Regions from separate parts of the Homo sapiens genome. Here region 1 is linked to region 2. Evidence: promoter capture Hi-C in 16 types of primary human blood cells and fetal thymus (Javierre and others, 2016). All regions are on one chromosome and are shown on one strand. The core of a region is centred on a gene start or on the middle of the fragment in contact, and the rest is flanking DNA. Distances in the headings are between cores, read along the strand shown. Region 1 holds the start of NLRP1 (NLR family pyrin domain containing 1). Region 2 holds the start of PIMREG (PICALM interacting mitotic regulator).

Region 1 (6,707 bases), core at 821-3,320, 860 kb before region 2:
TGGGTCTCAGCTTCCCCATCTGCCACATGGGGAGGGATGCAATCTCAGCACCGGAAGGTCCCTGAAAGATCAATTTCAGGCCTACCTCTCACAGCCCATCCTGGCTCCCCTATCCTTCCTCTGCTGTCCCCCATGTCAGGTCCCCATGCACAGACATGATCCTCTGGGTGGGGCCCACCAGCTGATTCACAGCTCCACCCAGGGCTGTCAGCCTGCCTCAGCAAGCCTCACCTCTCCAGCGGCGTCCAGATGTGTCAGGCAGCTGTCTCAAAACCCTTCTCTCTGAGCCCTGGGTGCACCCCGCCGGCAATTCATGGATCCAGGGCATTAGCACTGCGGTGGAGGTGGGTTGGCTGGGAGACCCCAGGTGGGGTTCACTTGGGCTGTAGGGGAATGAGGGAGAGTGGCCTACAGGAAAGAGACAAAGAGGTTGGAGACACATCAGAGGGGCAGGGGCAAGGTGCCAGGGAACTGAGCTGGTCTCCTCTCTCAACCAAGAGAGGTCAGGATACACCAGTGAACCCGCTGCAGCCCTCTACAACTTCCTCTAGAGGCTTGTCTGAAGAATGATGTTCTTATAGATACTGCTAGGCAAAAAATCCTCATCTAGGATCAGGAAATTTGCATATCTGTCTTGGTCCTGACTATCTCCCTGTGTAAATCACTACTCCTACTGAGCCTCAGCTGTGCTTTATTGGGCCAACGGCATCTGCAACCCAGGGTGGCTAATAGTAATAATAACAGCAGCAGCAGCAGCAGCAACAACAGCAATGGGAGATCTTATTTATTGAGCACTTACTGTATATCAGACTCTGTGCTAAATGTTTAACCTGGATGATCTCTTTTAACCCTCACACAGCCCAGGGAGGCGGGCTCTCACTCTCCCATTTTGCAGACAGAGAAATAGGCAGAGAGCAGTGAAGTGATTGGCCCAGGGTGATAGTGCCAGGACTGGTGATAGTGCCTGACTCCCAAGTCCGTGCTCATAACTACAATGCCAGGCGAGTACCGGGAATGCACTTGAATAGAAGAGGGTGTGGGGCTCTGAGGTGCAGCAAGGGCCCCCCCAGCAAGCCTCCTGGCTCCAGCATAGTCTGGGGCCTGGATCCCCCTTTGAGAGGGCAGTTCCATGTCACTGCTCAGAGGAAGGCCTGGCAGGGAGGGCTCAGTGGTGGGGTCCCAAGAGGGCAGGGCAGGCATGAGGGCCAGGGGATGTCCCGCGGGCAGTGGGGTCCTCTGTCCACTCACCTGCCCCTTCCTGGGCTTGGGCGCACAGTGACCTCAGCCCCATCTGCTCCCAGGTATGGAGGGCTAGGTCCCAGGCCCGCTGCTCCCCATACTGAGCCACCAGGTACGAGGCCACCTCCATGCCACTCGTCTTCTCTGGCTGAGCGGGTGTCTCACCCGAAGAGCTCCTGGAGTGCGCTTTATTGGCGAGCAGAAGCTGGAACTCCTTCAGCTCCTCCTTCTTCAGGAACTCCAAGTAACAGGCCAGGCGGCCCCAGGCTCCGCCAGCCATCTCTGTCCCGGAGTTAAGAGGGTGTCTGGGGGATGTTCCCAGGTGGTGAGGGTATCAGGCAGGCAGAGAACAGTGCTGTCCTTTGCCTTGGCTCTTACCGTCTCTTATTCAGCATTCGGAACCCAGTTTTATAAATCCCAGGGCACCTACAGATAGACGCCGATAGAGGGGGAGTGGTAGGAAAAGCCAGGGGAGGGAGGAGCCCAGAGGGGCCTGCAAGACACTGGAAGAAGTCAGCTGATAGGGAGGTCCTGGGATGGGGTCCAGGGCCAGGCAGGGAGGGTGAGGGTGAGGGGAGATGTGGTGACGGGAGATGGGGTGTGGGCAACGCTCACTGTTCTGTGTTCCTCAGATTCTTCCCTCTCCTGGGTCCTGGACTCCTGAGATCAACCCTTGAGCTGCAAGGCTGAGAAGAGGTGGGGTGGGAGGAGCCGCAGAGCAGGGAATGGGCTTTCAGAACCCAGAGTGGAGCCCCGGGCTGCTGGCTCCCAGGTTTCTTCAGACCTCTCCAGGCCCTGGGGCACCAGCCAGCAAGAACAGCGCCTAGTCAACAAGAGCAGGAAGGAAACGTCACCCAGAGGAAACCCACAAGGGGCGTGGCCAGGGGGTAGGATCAAACCAGGCCTGGGTAGGCCAGACTCAGAGTCACAGATTCAGATGGGCCACATGGCATCTATAGGCGGACCAGGAGCACAGGCCCAGACCAGCTGACGCTGCAGCAGGTACAGGCCCATACTAAACACGGTGTGTGCACCTCCACATGGGCACTCCGCCAGCCCATCATCTAGAGCCTGTCTGCAGAGCCAGGATGCAGACTCTCCGAGCAGTTGTGTCTGCAGCCCAGGCCCAGCCTCTCAGGATGGGTGGGGCCCCCTGTGTCTGCCCGGGCAGCTCCTTATTGGGAAACATTAGAACTGGGCCAGGGAGCATTTTTCCCAGCCTCTCATGGTTTTGGGAGCTTCTTGAGTTGCACTGCATGTCCTGCCATGCTACCAGGGGCACTAAAGCATGTGTCCCAGGCCCAGGGGGCTGTTTGCCTTCTGGGCAGCCCAGCACTTAGCTGGTGAACATTTCCACCTGAAAGCAGAACAGCCCCTTCCTCATTCCTGCAAGCAGGCCTCGGGGAGCCAGGGGCAGACTTCCTCTTTCGTGGAATCTGCAAGATGCCAATGACTTCAGGTTGAGGAATGACATTGCCTACTCATTTGCTGATGTAACACACCACCAGGAATTTCTGGAGATGCTTTGGTTTCACTTGGACTGGCAGAGCCCAGGCTTCAACCCACGGCTTGCTTGGACAAGGACTCCTTATGTGCCTGATTTATTTCTTTGAGCCTCAGTTTGCCCATCTATTAAATGGGACATCATAGGTTTACCAAGAGGCTTCAATTCAGCAAAAGGTCTTAGAGTCTCTCTCTCTTTCCCAGGCTGGAGTGCAGTGGCAAGATCTCGGCTCACTGCAAGCTCCCTCCACCTCCTGGGTTCCAGCGATTCTCCTGCATCAGCCCAGCTTCCTGGGCAGTTGGGATTACAGTCACTCACCACCACGCCTGGCTAATTGTTTTGTATTTTTAGTAGAGATGGGGTTTCACCATGTTAGCCAGTCTGATCCGAGGTGATCCGCCCACTTCGGCCTCCCGAAATGTTGGGATTACAGGTGTGAGCCTCCGTGCCTGGCCTAAATAAATTTTATAAATGTTAGTTTTAAAAAATGGCTAATAAGCACATTGTAGGACATTCTAATATCAGATTGACCAGAAGTGGAAAAGTGCTGTGCTAAAAGTGGGATGATCGGGAGGCTCTGAGCACTCCGTGAAGGACCGTGAGACTCCATGTAGCGGGAGGAATGGCCTGGAGGAGGGCTGTGTGGGCTTTTTTTCCTCCTCACACCAGCCAGTTCTGGCACCAACTCTCTAGACACCAACTGGTGTCCTACAGTGCAATTCTGACACTGACTGCCTGGAGTTGGCATCAAACCTCACAGGTTTAGGGTTTCAGTGAAGAGCTGGCCTCATATCAGATGCCAGTTGCAAATGGGGTGCCCAGACCACTGGCATCTCTGTCTGACTTGGTGACAAATTCAAGGGTTCCCACAGTCCCCGGCAGGTTCAATAATTTGCTGAAATGACTCACAGGACTGAGAAAAGCACTTTATTTATTATTATCGGTTCATGATGGAGGATACGACTCAGGAATAGCCCAACGGAAGAGATGCCGAGGTCAAGGTGTGGGTGGGGGAGGGGCACAGCGCTTCCTTGCCCTCCCGGGCACCCTACTCTCCCTGCCCCTCCCTGCTTCACTAACCTGGAAGCTCTCCAAACCCCAAACAAACAAGACTGTGGGGTTTTCTCGGAGGTTTCACTTCACAGGCATAATTCATTAAATCACTGGCCGCTGGAGATCCACTCAACCTGTTAAATAGATCAGAAACCTGACCCTTCCCACCACGCCCACTGGGGCTGCTGGTCCAGCCTTCAGTCGTCTCTTACTGGGATCACTGTGCTAGCCTTCCACATGTTCTCCACCCATGCTGATGCTTCCCCTTTACTGTCTACTCTCAGTCTAGAAGCCAGAATTATCCACTTAAAGCATAAATTAGGTCAGGTCACTTCTCAGCTCAAAACTTTCCCATACTCCATCTCACTCTGAGTAAAAACCAAAGTCCAACCAAAGGTGTGGTGACTCGTGCCTGTAATCCCAGCACTTTGGGAGGCTGAGGTGGGAGGATCGCTTGAGTCCAGGAGTTCAAGACCAGTCTGGGAAACATGGCAAGACCCTGTCCCTATGACATAATATTAAAAAACTTCCCAAATCCGGCCAGGTACAGTGGCTCATGCCTGTAATCTCAGCACTTTGGGAGGCTGAGGCGGGCAGATCACCTGAGGCCAGGAGTTCAAGACCAGCCTGGCTAACATGGTGAAATCCCATCTCTAATAATTATAATACAAAAAAAATTATCCGGGTGTGGTGGCGCACGCCGTATTCCTTCAGGAGGCTGAGGCAGGAGAACTGCTTGAACCTGGGAGGCAGAGATTGCAGTGAGCCGAGATTGCACCATTGCACTCCAGCCTGGGCGACAAGAGCAAAACACAGTCTCAAACCAAACCAAACCAAACAACAACAACAACAACAACAACTCCCCAAATCTCCCAGAGCCCTCCCAATGGTTCCCGGGGGCTGCATGATCTAGCCCCTGATATCTCTCCGGCATTATATCCTACCCTATCCCCCTCCCTCACTGGATCCTCTTAGTCTTTTCCCTGTTCCTTGAATACACCAAGAATACTCTCACTCCAGGGCCTTTGCACTAGTCTTTCCATTGTCTTGGAATGGTTTCCCCAGATATTCAGAGGTGTGCTATCCAACCTTCTGTAAAGTAGAATTCCTTCATTCCGTGCTTCATTTTTCCGCATGACACTTATTATTGCCTGACGTTACAGACTTGTTTATTTGTTTACCTTCTGTCACCCCCTCCTGCCAATAGGATGTTAGGTCCCTGGAGACAGGACTTGGCTTGTTTTGTTCGCTGTTGTATCCGCTATGCCTAAATCAGTGCCTGGCCCACAATGTCAGCACAATCAATACCACAGACATTGAATGTCTTTTGAACGCTTTCCTTTAATGCTTTCCTTCTTATCCTTCCAAACAGCTACTCACTCTGGCCACTAGATGGCACTCAAGTACTTTCTGAGAATTGAAGCAGCCTCATGGGTTTGGTGGAGAGGACCCACTGGCGCTCTCTGAGCCTGAATTTTTAAAATTATCCCTGTTTCTGGTGCTTTGGGCCTTTGTTTCCTTTCCTTGAGGCATTTTAGGAACACATTAAAACTCACTTTTATTCAAGTCATGCTATTTTCAATTAAAACTTAACTCATGAGGAATATCTGTATGGCCAGTACTCCAGCAGAGTACAGTGAGGCCTTCTCTTTAGGTTCAAATTACTATGACTTGAATCAAGATCTGGATAACTTGAAATCAGCCTCCTTGAAATTCCTCTCCTCCCACCTATTTCTAAGCGTGTCCCAGGCATTGCCTCATGGGGTTCTGAAGTCAGTTCTTGGTTCCCCTCTGATCGACTGGTCTTGACTACCTTGCTGCCGTCCCTTTGGTCTCAGACCCCATTTCTATCCTCCTGAAGTTGCTGGGCCCAGGTGTCCTCTCTGTCACCACCATTTTAGGGCACGGCTCTTTTCTGGCCCATTCCTGAAATGTGGGACAAGATTTTCCCAATTTACGGCACAGCTGAGACCGTGACATGAGGATATGATTTTGAGCAAGAACTTCCCCAAGGTTCAGGGATGAAGGATAGTAAATACATCAGGGCATCACTCTCTGTAGCTGTGGCTCACACTGTCCTCAGAGCCCTCTCTGGTCCAGGATCATCCCTGCTATCCCTTTTCCAGCTGGAGCCCTCTGTAGCTCTGGTGCTTTCCATTACACACAGGCAGGTCATTGCCCAGCCTCAAGATTCTGCAGCCTCCTCTGCCCTTTGGAGGCCAGGACCCTCTGGCTCTAATACTTAGAAAGAGAACAAGCTGTCCTACATTCACATCACTCCTAGCACAGGCCCCAGGATTATCCTCCTTCCAGGATGATCGACATGGAAATATCTAGTCCCTTCAGGTGTGTGCTTGGTATTGTTGGAAATAAAAGCTCGGAGTCACAGAGAAAATGAGCACTCAAATAAAGGATTTTTTCAGCAAGGCAAATTTACTTCTGGAGAAGGGTCTCGCTTGCCCTTCTGGCCACTGCAAGAGCACACTGAACAAAGGAGGGAAGGGGTTTTTATCCCTGACCCAGTCAGTCCCTGATGCTGTGTCCGGGCCCCATTGGCTGGAGTTGGACTGCGCAGTCTAAGCTGATCCTGATTGGCTACTTCAAATGGAGCAGGGGTGGGGGCTACAGCAGCGGGAAGAGCAGTTTTGGCCAAATAAGGTACAGATGTGGGTTGTTTCAGATTGTGAATGGATGTGGGTTACAGACTGGGAATGGATGTGAGTTACAGATTGGGAACGGCTGGAAGGTTGTTTACTGTAACTAGGGGCAAGGAGGCAGAACAGTTAGGCTTTGAAAATAGAGGACAAAGAATGAGAGAATTGAACAAGCGGAACCTTTGAAAAGGAACTCACTGTATCCAACAGTGTTATGGACCCAACAAGATCATCTCAATAGTTTGACAATTCATTTC
Region 2 (6,466 bases), core at 3,919-6,418:
ATTCCTCTTCTTGTAAAGCCTCCAATCCTATCACAGGGTCCTACCCTGATAATATTATCTAATCCTAATGACCCTCCAAAGGTCCCACCCATAAATATCATCAACATACGAATTTGAGGATTCGGTTTCCAACAGATGAAATTTGGGGGACACATTAAAACCATAGCTGCTCCCAAACCAGTCTCCTCATGGACTTTATTAAAATGCCAATCTAATAACCTACTGCCCTCTTCAAATTCAGCAAAGAGTTGCCACCACCTTCAGGACAAATTTTAAGCTCCTTCTCTGGCCTACAGACCCTGTCTCTTGCCACCCCATCCCCTACCCTCAGCCCCTCATCTCAGCCCCACCCTTTTTGTCTAGGCTTTCCCCAGTCCTAACGCTTGGCAATGCTCCAGACTCCCAACCACTGGCCCACTAGCTCCTCACTTCAAACACCACACATTCAGGGAAGACTACCCTGACCTCCAGCTCCTGTCAATCTCCCCATGCCCCTTATACCCTGTCACTTCTCCCTAGCACTGCACATTCATGCTATTTTGCCCCATTGTAATTGTTTACAATGATGTGTTTAATGTCTATGTCTTCCATCAGATTGACAGTTTCAGGAGGTCAAGGAAACTAGTGGAATGTTTGCTCTTGGACAAAGAGCCCCTGGAGAGCAGGGCTGGAGCTCCTCGTTTGTCCCCCTCCCCAACGGAGGCAAGGGTGATGCTGGATTCCCTCCCCCTCCAAAAGCCTCTGCTAGGAAAAAGTGACTGGTTTTTCCTCCTTACCAAGAACAGAAGCCAATGTACCGACCTCTGGACTAGGAGCCTCCTTCCCCTGAGTACAGCCTCCTTCCCTCCCTCCAGCCACCACTCCACGCAAGGCAAAAGGGAAAGGCTTCCCATTCATAAGAAAATGTTTCTTCCCCCTTTACTTGTTGCCATGGAGACTGTTCTTCATTAACCTGGCCTGCCAGTTACCATTCTGAGTGAGGGAAGATGGTGGAAAGCTCCAAGCAGGGAGGGCCTCTTTATGCATGCATGCATTCATTGTTTCACCCCTGATCTTAACAAAGTTGTGTAATCTAAGGGTAAGAATTCAGGCTTTGAAGTCAGTCACTGGATTTAAGCTCCAGTTCTGACATCCCATACAATCTTGGACCAGATATTTCACCTGTCTGCATCTCACTTTTGTCATCTGTAATGGAAATAAAAAACGTACCTACTTCATAGAATTGCTTGAGGATTAAAAAAGAATAAAGAAAGTAAATGCCCTTAGCAGAGAGTCTGACACATGGTGAGGGCTCAAAAAATATAAGCTATTATTACGGATGCCTGTGACATGACAGGCACTGGGGAGGCTATTGTGATAAGACACTCCGGTTTGAGAGACTTGGCTTGTTTCTAAATGTTTCACCTTCATGGAGTCTTTCCCACACTTTCATCTTAGTTTTCATAGAAACAACAACTTTTTCTTTTCCCCCTTGGATTTCACTGGTAAAAGACATCAGTTAAATTCCTTAATTACAGTAACAAATGCAACTGTTGTAAACAGGTTTGAAAACAAGCATTTCTGACTCTTGATAAACAACTTCACTGTGAACAAAATGGACAGGCAAACTAGAGCAATATTTTGCAAACCACAACTCATACTCCATTAGTGACTCGTAGAATGAATATAGTGGGTTGTAACCATCAAGGTTTTTTTAAATGAAATAAAAAATAAAATCTCAGGTCATATCACACATAGTCAAGTATTGTTTCATGAAACTTTTGTTTCAGTTCACGTGTGTGTGTGCTGGGTCTCTTACAGTGAATGCTGGTTCCTTAAGCGTGGTGTTCCCTGAGCCAAGAAGATCACACACACACACACACACACACACACACACACACACACACACACACACATTCGTTGCCTGGTTAACTCATTCTCTAGGTCTCAGCTTTCAATAACATAAGTTTTGCATAGTTCTTTGATTAACTGATTATTGGTTATTTGATCCTTTCATGTCTATGTCTCCCCACACACTAGATTTGAGCTCCATGACAGTAAGGAATGTATCTGTTTTGTTGACCTTTGTGGCCCATTTTTTAGCACAGTGCTTAATGGATCACAGGCAAGAGGGAATATGGGGGAGGAGGAGGATTGAGGAGACCAGGGTGACTTCAGCTAGGGTGTGTTTATCTAAGATGCCTGCAGCATTCAAGAGGAGATGAGACCCAGGAGGTAGTTGGCTATACATGTCAGATGAGAGGCTCAAGCTGGGGGTGGAGGTGTTAGGGGCTGAGGAAGGCAGTGTGGTGTGGTGGTTAGGCACAGGGACCCTAGCCCTAGACTGATGAAGTTTGAACCCTTGGCCCTGGTGTAGACTAACTGAGTGAAATTTGGGCCCTACCAAATTCTGTATTCTCAGCTTCCTCATCAAGTGTAGGTACAATGAAGATGTCAGTCCGTTTTCTGTTGTTATATCTGAATACCACAGACTGCATAATTTATAAAGAAAAGACACTTAGCTCATGGTCTGGAGGATGGGAAGTTCAAGAGCATAGCACTGGCATCTGGTTGGCATCTGGTAAGGGCCTTCTTGCTGTGTTGTAACATGGCAGAAGGCATCGCATGGTGAGAGGGCAAAAGCGTGCCTGTCAGCTCGGGTCTCTCTTCCCCTTCTTTTAAAGCCACCAGTACCATCATGGGGGCCCCATCTGTTTGATCTTATCTAATGCTAATTACCTCCCAAAGGCCTCACCTCATCAACATACTGGACGTTGGGAATGGTAGGTGCAAGGAAGGAATAGGAGAGATTTGTTAAAAGACACAAAGTTACAGCTAAATAGGAGTAATAAGCTTAGTATTCTATAGCACTGTGGAATGACTAGAGTGAACAATAATATATAGTTTCGAATAACTAGAAGGAAGATATTGACTCTTACCAACACAGAAAAACGATAATGTTTGAGATGATGAATATGCCAATTACCCAGATCTGATCACTCTACATTATATGTATCAAAACATCACTATGTGCCCCATAAATGTTTAATTATTACTTGTCAATTTTAAAAAAAATTTTAAAGAAAATTACAAAGTAGCTCATACTTAGAAAATAATATATGTACAGGTATGTGTATACACACGCATTTATAAAGTGATACGTATAAAATTACTTACATATATGGTTTAAAGAATAATAAAGACTAGGCAAGGTGGCTCACGCTTGTAATCCCAGCACTCTGGGAGGTCAAGGCAGGAGGACTGCTTGAGCCCAGGAGGTTGAGACTGCAGTGAGCTATGATTGTACCACTGCACCTCAGCCTGGACAACAGAGCAAGATCCTGTCTAAAAGAAAAAAAATAAAAAAGAAGAAAGTAAACATCCATGTGGCCACCACCCAGCCTACAAAATGGAACATTATCTTTGAAGTCCTTTGAGCCCTTTCCTCATTACATCCTCTTCTCCTGCCACCCTTCCAAAAACGACGACTTATTTTATTTTGGTGTTTCAATTCCTTTGCTTTCCATAATAGCTTTGTCCACAAATGTATGTGCATATTCCTAAACCATATTGTTGAGCTTTTTTGCGTTTGAATTTATACAGTGTCATACTTTATGTTTGTCTGCATATTGCTTTTTTTTAATCTAACATATTTCTGAGATTGACTTAAGTTACACCATCTGGCTACAATTTGCTTATTTTTCAGTGCTGTATAATATTCTATAATTTGAATAAATAACAATTTATATGTCTTAAAAAATGCCACCGATAGCCAGGAACGGTGGCTCACGTCTGTAATCCCAGCAGTTTGGGAGGCTGAGGCGGGTGGATTGCCTAAGGTCAGGAGTTCGAGACCAGCCTGGCCAACATAGTGAAACCCCATCTCTACTAAAAATACAAAAAATTAGCTAGGCGTGGTGGCAGGCACCTGTAATCCCAGCTACTAGGGAGGCTGAGGCAGGAGAATCGCTTGAACCTGGGAGGCGGAGGTTGCAGTGAGCCGAGATCATGCCATTGCACTCCAGCCTGGGCAACAAGAGTGAAATTCCGTCTCAAAAACAAACAAAAAATGCCACCGATATATGAATTTGGGCATTACATTTCCAACATGTGAAATTTGAGGGACACATTCAAACCATAGCAGAGGATCAAGTAAGTTAATAAACTGCAACACCGGTACCTGTGCATACTAAGTGCCATATACACGTTAATCATTATCATCATCCTTTCCTTGGAAATCACTGAGGCCAAAGGAGTGGGTGAGACCACCCAGAAACGGAGAGGGCTGAAGACAGAGTCTCAAGAAGCCATCATCTCAGGCTCTTGTGCGGAGAAGTAACAAAGAAACCAGCCGGGGGAGTGGGCAGCACTGCTCTGAGGTCACCGAAAGGAGAAAGATGAGCTGGAGAGAGCTTTATAATGGCTGCATTTGTTTGGATGCTAAGGAGAAGAGAGGCAGGCATTCCGCTGGAGAGAGGGAGGGATGCGTGGGGCAAGGCGGGGGCGGGGAGCCGGTGTAGACGGGTGGAGGGCAGACCGGTACTCTGGTCTATCCCCGCTTCCGGGACGCGTTTTCTAGGGAGGGCGGAGCGTGGATGGCGAGTATGGGGAACTCAGAGAGGGACAGTGTCTTGTCACAGGAAGGGAGGGTCAGGAGGGAAATTTGAAAGAAAACGTCTCTGGGAACCCAGGGCTCTGCACTGCCAGTCCCTGGCTCCTTCTGACAAAACCACTGAGCAAGAAGGAAAAGCCAGACCCCTTGGCAGGATGAGAGGGGTCTCTGCCCGCTGCCGGGCCTGGGGCCTGGGGCCTGAGCCAGGAGGCCTAGGTCCCAGGACCTCCGCCTCCACCCCATGGGTCAGAGCAGCCTGAACCCTGTGCGCGCTCCAGGGAGGGGACCCGGTGTGCGATGCGCGGGGGCTGGGCTAGCAAGGGCAGTGGCGCGAGCGGGACGCAGGATACAAAGCCCGGAGCCACGAGGCTGGCGGCGGGGCGGGGGCCGGAGCGATGAATGGGCACGGCCGGGCCAATCCAAGCGCAGCATTTGCAGCCGCGAGAGAGGGAGCCAATCGGATCCCCGGGGCGGTGGCGGTGGCGGGGGCGGGGACGGAACCAATCAGCTGTGAGGACGGGGCCGGGGGCGGAGCCGCGCAGAGTTTCAAATCGGCTGCGGTGGGCGAGGAGCAGCTGTGCTGCGGCTGTGCTCGGCCTTAGTGGTGTCGGGTGAGTGCGGGCTGGGCACAAGTTTCGCCCTTGTTGCCCAGGCTGGAGTGCAATGGCGCGATCTGGACTCAAAACAATTTTTTTGTTCGGAGGGGAGGGCATCAGGTTCTGTTCACAGGGGAGGGCATCAGGTTCGGACACGCACGGCCTGTGGGGTCGTCTGGGTACCACAAGAAGTCGGATCGAAATCGGGGCGTCTGGTGGGAAGGCCGGGGTCTGGGCGGGTGCGCGTTTGGTCTGGGCGAGCTGGTGAAGAAGATGGTGATCGTGTCCTGGGCCCAGCGCTGAAGCTCGGCTACGGCGTGTCTTGACCCTGCCTCCCCTCCTCGCCTGAGCCAGAGAGAGGAAGGAGGTTGGGATGAAAAGACAGCTGTTTTGGAAACTTGAAGGGCGGGACATCAGAAATGCTGCTGACCCGAGGCCCCTCTTCCAGGAAGCATCCTCCTTCCTGCACCCACACTTACCAACTCGCCCGCCCCCGCCACCCCGCTGCATCCCGTCTCTTCCCCTGTGTCCAGGGTCTCTGTGGGGCCTGGGAATGGGTATGGGGAATGCCTTGCTGATCTGCCTTTCGCCCTCCTCCCCAGGGTCTAGTGGACAGAGAAGACTCTTGGCCAGGCAGATGGCTTCTCGGTGGCAGAACATGGGGACCTCCGTGCGCCGGAGATCTCTCCAGCACCAGGAGCAGCTGGAGGACAGCAAGGAGCTGCAGCCTGTGGTCAGCCATCAGGAGACCTCTGTAGGGGCCCTGGGGTCCCTGTGCAGACAGTTCCAAAGGAGGCTGCCCCTGAGAGCCGTCAACCTCAACCTCCGCGCAGGGCCCTCCTGGAAACGCCTGGAAACCCCAGAGCCAGGTCAGCAGGGCCTCCAGGCTGCAGCTCGCTCAGCTAAGAGTGCTTTGGGTGCCGTGTCCCAGGTAATACTGACAACACTAATCATCTTTTTTATGGAGTGTTTCCTTGGTGCCAGGCAGTTCCTGCCCTCAAAGAGCCTCAAGAATATAGACTTCATGAAAACAGGGACGTTGGTTAGTTCACTGCTGTTTCCCCACCACCCCAGATAGTTCCTGGCACATATAGGTGCTCAACAAATAGTTGAATGAGTGAATGAAAGCATGTCTTGGAGGAAACAGATGCTCACAATACCAGGTGATAAGAGCTGTACGTGATAGGAAATTGCAAAGCAAGTGACCAATAGTGAGGCTCACCAAATGCAAGCTTAGTCGGTGAAGGCTTCCCAGAGGAGGTGATTCCAGAGTTCACCC

Evidence for each region. The method cuts DNA at HindIII sites, captures the fragments that hold promoters and counts their contacts. A CHiCAGO score of 5 or more calls a contact.
Region 1: the fragment with the promoter of NLRP1 here is called in contact with the fragment with the promoter of PIMREG in region 2 in 17 of 17 cell types (activated CD4 T cells, total B cells, naive CD4 T cells and 14 more); the score reaches 35.2 in activated CD4 T cells.

What each region holds. Positions count from the first base shown.
Region 1 is chr17:5,582,439-5,589,145 of GRCh38, forward strand. It overlaps NLRP1 (NLR family pyrin domain containing 1), which reads right to left and starts at 2,071. Exons shown (of 17, transcript NM_033004.4): 1 at 1,249-2,071; 2 at 232-408. The coding sequence starts at 1,519. RefSeq lists enhancers at 1,409-2,608, 1,880-2,139, 2,160-2,459. The HindIII fragment of the contact is 12,933 bases long and covers 1-6,707 here.
Region 2 is chr17:6,439,287-6,445,752 of GRCh38, forward strand. PIMREG (PICALM interacting mitotic regulator) reads left to right here and starts at 5,169. Exons shown (of 6, transcript NM_019013.3): 1 at 5,169-5,202; 2 at 5,790-6,118. The coding sequence starts at 5,825. The region is part of intron 2 of LOC107985017 (a long non-coding RNA gene); the gene reads right to left. RefSeq lists silencers at 4,479-4,628, 4,859-5,108, 5,191-5,418 and an enhancer at 4,549-5,127. The HindIII fragment of the contact is 3,587 bases long and covers 2,831-6,417 here.